2 separate regions of the Homo sapiens genome follow, and region 2 is linked to region 1. The links are contacts of gene promoters, found by promoter capture Hi-C in blood cells and fetal thymus (Javierre and others, 2016). All regions are on one chromosome and are shown on one strand. Each heading gives the region's core, a stretch centred on a gene start or on the middle of the fragment in contact. The rest is flanking DNA. Distances are from core to core; before and after follow the strand shown.

Region 1 (2,602 bases), core at 54-2,553:
AAATACATATCACATACTTCTTTAATAGCTAATCATGCATTTTTGGTTAGCAATAACCAAAATCCTAAGAGATCTCTTAAGGATGTTTACATTAAAGCATATCATTTAAGAATTTTCCTGTGACTGTGGTTTTGCGTGCACGCATGTGTGTGCACGCGCGCGCACACACACACACACACACACACACACATCAGGCCAGCTTTGGCTGGACAGAGTCCAAATCCCACATGATATAATTTATCTGAGTTTAGGCTCTTTCACTCAACTCTGATATTGAAAAAAATTAATAATAAAGCTTTTTGCCTCTTGACCAGAAGGCCTGTGTTTTTCAGAGCAATATTGGAAATGAAAAATCACAGGATGTCAGCCACCTTGTTTCTCAGTTGGGATGATATCACCAGTAAACTTTTATGTGAAGCAATCAGCAAACATCTCCTGTTTCCCTCTAGCGGAAGTCTGGGATTCAGGATGGTGTTTCAGCTGCTGTGTTAGGACACATTCCAGAGTAGAATGCAGGTCAAATGCTGTGCAAGGTTTTATAGTTTCAATTCAAACCCAAACCTATATATAGTAACATCTTAAAAAAAAAAAGTAGGTAGGAATGTATTCATATGGAATTTTTTTTAACTTCAGAAATTTTGAAAAAATTAAAAAATATTTGTCTCTGTGGAGAGAGTTTAGTTATGATTATTAACTGGTTTCTATCTCCAGCACATGTAGCTGTCAATCAGTCCTCTTTATTATTAGAATTCTCCTGGAGCAGTAAAGGGACTTGTTAACTCCATTGTATGTGATTATAAGGCACTGTTCTAAGTATCCATAGTTGTTTAAATATGAACCCCCGGACACTACCATGATCCACAAGTGGTCCAGGTCCTACAAATGGTGCCGAGTGTTCAGAGGGATGAGTCGGCTGCCAGGCATGATGGAGGGAGAGACATGCGTGTCTATCTTGAAGTCTTTGACCAGGCAGTTTCTATTTTAATTAGATAAGGCAAACTAAAAATCTTTATCCAAAAACTCAATCAAGCTAACATCAGGAAGAAACTGACAGAGCAGCCCCTGGTTGGGGAGGCTCTGCCATTCTGTGGTCTCATCAAAGAAGCAAGACTTTGATTTGGGGGCCTCCAGCACTTTAGCCTCAAAGGAGAGCCCTCTCCCCACCCCTGACCCCAGCACTTACCTGAGCAAAGGCTAAAGAGCAGGAGGAGAGGCCAGGGCTCCATGGGCTACCGGAGCTTGTGTGGACCAGGGCAGAGTGGTGGCCTGTGCTTCTCACTGGCACTCTGGCTGGGTGCTTGTCTGCTGGAGGGTTTGGAAAGCGAGTCGGCTCACTAGAGCTATTGTTTTACACCACCTGTTTGTGGGAGCGACAGCTGGGCTGCCCTCAGCCCTGGAGCCCAGGGAGTTACTGGGACTGTACACCATTACAGATATGCCTCACTTTACACAATTGCTTACCCTTGACAAGCTGAGTATGAACTGCATTATATTTTAAATGCACCAGTAGTCAGATCTTAATGAAAAAAAAATGTATAGGAAGGAAGGAATTATTTTAAATGGTGAGCAAACTGCCTCTCTTTTGTGTAAACCAGAACCTCATCTCTGTGGGTTGACTTGATTAGGGTCATTTGGTCTGAGTAGATAGTCAGCTGTTTGTCCTAAACCACAAAAATCCACATTCTGCAAACATGGCTTCAGTTTCATTTCCTCTGCTTCAGTGTTAGGCTGAGGGTGCCGGGGGCTTTTCTGACTGCCTGGATTTCAGAAAAGTGTAGCTGGTGTTGAGTCTGCTGCTGGGAAGCCCCCACGTTGATTGGGTTTGGTTTTTAACAAAGACAGCTTCTTCCATAAAACTGGCTTTACTGGCCCCCAGAGTGGCTGTTCCAACCCCTGCCTCTGTATCAGGCAATACCTATCCCACACGAACCATTAGCTGGAGCAAATTGCCCACGTCCTATGCACTGTGATTCAAGCGAAGAGTAATTATTGGGAAAAAGTGTCCCACCGCATCAGCAGTCGTTCCGGGTTCCTGCCTCCTTCCATCCGTCCCTCTGCCTACTCTCACTCAGGGAAGCAAAGAGCAGAGTGGTTCAGCTTTTCAATTATCTTGCTTGAAAAACATCCTAAAAACCAGCAGTTAGTAATTTCTCAGTCTGAGAAGTATTGTTACCCTAGCTGTGCTTCTTTGCAGGGTGTGAGGTGAGTTCCCAGAAGGAGACAGTTACTTAAAGGTACCCTGCCTGTTCCTTCCAGGCCTCCTTCCCACATGGAACTAGGTGAGAAAGGTCCTCTCACCTCAAGCCCACAACAACATCCTGACAGATCCTCTCATTCCAGTGGATCCAAACAAATCATTAGAGAAGGGGCTTGGAGGGTAGAGGAGAGAGCTGCAAGCTCATACTATTTATATTTTTTGTTTAAACTGTGGGAGATCAGTTAACTGTTTGCTAAAAAAAAATTTGGTTCTCTCCCTTCCATGGAATAGCCCCGTGGCAGAAATACAACCCCCACCCTCTGACCAGCCCCTTCCATCTAAATGGAGCCATGGGACTGACCTCTGGCCAGTGGCATGAGTGGAAAAATGTTCTCAGACTCACAA
Region 2 (2,602 bases), core at 43-2,542, 1.3 Mb after region 1:
GTGTCCTGCGCGGGGCCAGGGCCAGGGCCGGGGCCGGGCCAGGCCGGGCCATGAGCCGCGCCGGGAGCTGGGACATGGACGGGCTGCGGGCAGACGGCGGGGGCGCCGGTGGCGCCCCGGCCTCTTCCTCCTCCTCATCGGTGGCGGCGGCGGCGGCGTCAGGCCAGTGCCGCGGCTTTCTCTCCGCGCCTGTGTTCGCCGGGACGCATTCGGGGCGGGCGGCGGCGGCGGCAGCGGCGGCTGCGGCGGCGGCGGCGGCAGCCTCCGGCTTTGCGTACCCCGGGACCTCTGAGCGCACGGGCTCTTCCTCGTCGTCGTCCTCTTCTGCCGTTGTAGCGGCGCGCCCGGAGGCTCCCCCAGCCAAAGAGTGCCCAGCACCCACGCCTGCAGCGGCCGCTGCAGCGCCCCCGAGCGCTCCAGCGCTGGGCTACGGCTACCACTTCGGCAACGGCTACTACAGCTGCCGTATGTCGCACGGCGTGGGCTTACAGCAGAATGCGCTCAAGTCATCGCCGCACGCCTCGCTGGGAGGCTTTCCCGTGGAGAAGTACATGGACGTGTCAGGCCTGGCGAGCAGCAGCGTACCGGCCAACGAGGTGCCAGCGCGAGCCAAGGAGGTATCCTTCTACCAGGGCTATACGAGCCCTTACCAGCACGTGCCCGGCTATATCGACATGGTGTCCACTTTCGGCTCCGGGGAGCCTCGGCACGAGGCCTACATCTCCATGGAGGGGTACCAGTCCTGGACGCTGGCTAACGGGTGGAACAGCCAGGTGTACTGCACCAAGGACCAGCCACAGGGGTCCCACTTTTGGAAATCTTCCTTTCCAGGTAGGGGCGATGGAGAAAAGGGACCGACACGAGGGAGGGGGAGAGAGAAGGAGAAAAGAAAGGACTAAGAGTATGCGCCCCTACTTGGGAGTGGGAGTTGTGCCTGTGCTCCACACGTGACCAGGGTTAACCCAGTGGAAATTTGTCCAGTTCGTGTGAAATCTGTAAATTCCTCCTCTGATTTCAACTGCCTCCGTCACTGCCCTTTCTTTCCTGTGTGCAGCGCAGACACGTTTTTCTCCTAAAGTTGAGAGTCTCTGCGTGCCCTTTCCTTGGGCCTCTCCCTTTTCTCCTAAAGAGAACTTTTTCCTAAGAAACCTGACAGAGTTGGGTCCCCCCATTTTCAAAGACATCACTGCCCCAAGATGACTACTAAAGCTTGTTAGATCAAGCTCACGAACTCCTAACATAGGAACGCGGGAAATCAAAATTTGAGCAAAAGACCTGAGTTGGTATGTGTCTATGTATGTAAGTTTGTTTTTATACAACCGACATTTGCAGAAACTGTCCTCATGAACGTGCCCAATAACCACACCATAAAATTGCAAGCTTGTTAAGATGCCGGTTTGAGAAACTATGATAATCAATCAAATTAACCATTGTTGTTAAGTGCAAATAATCCTTCTTTAATAACAGGTAAGTGTTATGTCTATGTACATAATAAAGACCAAACAGCATGGCATTTTTTAAAAATTTCCTGCACCCCTGCAAACGCACACACACACACACACACACACACACACACAATCCTCAGCTAGGTGCTCCGAATATCCCAGCCTAATTTTTCTTGTGCTTTTGTTTGTATCAGGGGATGTGGCTCTAAATCAGCCGGACATGTGCGTCTACCGAAGAGGGAGGAAGAAGAGAGTGCCTTACACCAAACTGCAGCTTAAAGAACTGGAGAACGAGTATGCCATTAACAAATTCATTAACAAGGACAAGCGGCGGCGTATCTCGGCTGCTACGAACCTATCTGAGAGACAAGTGACCATTTGGTTTCAGAACCGAAGAGTGAAGGACAAGAAAATTGTCTCCAAGCTCAAAGATACTGTCTCCTGATGTGGTCCAGGTTGGCCACAGACAGCTTAGAAGCCATTCGGTTGTCTCCAAAAGGCCTTTGGAAAGACTTGAATATGTATTTAATTCCCCCCACCCCCTGCCAATGGTGGCAAATTTTGTGAATTGTTTTTCTCTCTTCCCCTTATCTGGCTCTAAAACCTTCTGCTGCCCAACCTGACTTTGTAGTTCTGATTTTTACTTGTTTATTATTGGTTTTGTTCTTGCCTAGGGTTTTTAAAATATCTGTTTTTAATGTTTTGTTTCTCCCTCCAGGCCAGTATAAAGGGACTTGAAGTATTTTTTAATAATCCGCCCCCCAATGAACTTCAGAAGTGCCATTCTGATTTAAGGGTTTTTTTAAAAAATTACTTTATTTGTTCATTCCCAGCACTGATTATCTTCATAATCCATTAGGACAGAATGGTTTTCAGTCGTTCATATCCTGTAATTAGGTAATTGAATCATTAGCTCTCAGCAGTTGCCCTGAGGCAAGTGGAAAGGCAGGCAGTGCTCTGGGGTCACCGAGAAAGTCTAAAAACAGGAGGCTGAAGGTACTGTGATGGCTTTAAAAATGGCCACCTTATTAAATAGGGATTGTATCAATATTGAAATGAAGACAATCTTTCCAACTTTGGGTGTTTCACTTGCTGTTTTAATTGTTTGTTTTTAACACTTTGTAGGTTTGTGTTTTCATAATCTTTAATTTGAAACT

What was found. The method cuts DNA at HindIII sites, captures the fragments that hold promoters and counts their contacts. A CHiCAGO score of 5 or more calls a contact.
Region 2: a contact is called between a fragment that was not itself captured here and the fragment with the promoter of CHRNA1 in region 1, in 1 of 17 cell types (M2 macrophages). The highest score is 6.5, in M2 macrophages.

The regions. Positions count from the first base shown.
Region 1 is chr2:174,763,169-174,765,770 of GRCh38, forward strand. CHRNA1 (cholinergic receptor nicotinic alpha 1 subunit) reads right to left here and starts at 1,304. Exons shown (of 9, transcript NM_000079.4): 1 at 1,184-1,304. The coding sequence starts at 1,226. RefSeq lists an enhancer at 1,305-1,804. The HindIII fragment of the contact is 3,214 bases long and covers 294-2,602 here.
Region 2 is chr2:176,092,841-176,095,442 of GRCh38, forward strand. It overlaps HOXD13 (homeobox D13), which reads left to right. Exons shown (of 2, transcript NM_000523.4): 1 at 1-831; 2 at 1,640-2,602. The coding sequence starts at 51. The coding sequence ends at 1,890. Among named protein-coding and RNA genes, the nearest start is that of HOXD13, 1.4 kb to the left of the region's middle. The HindIII fragment of the contact is 171 bases long and covers 1,208-1,378 here.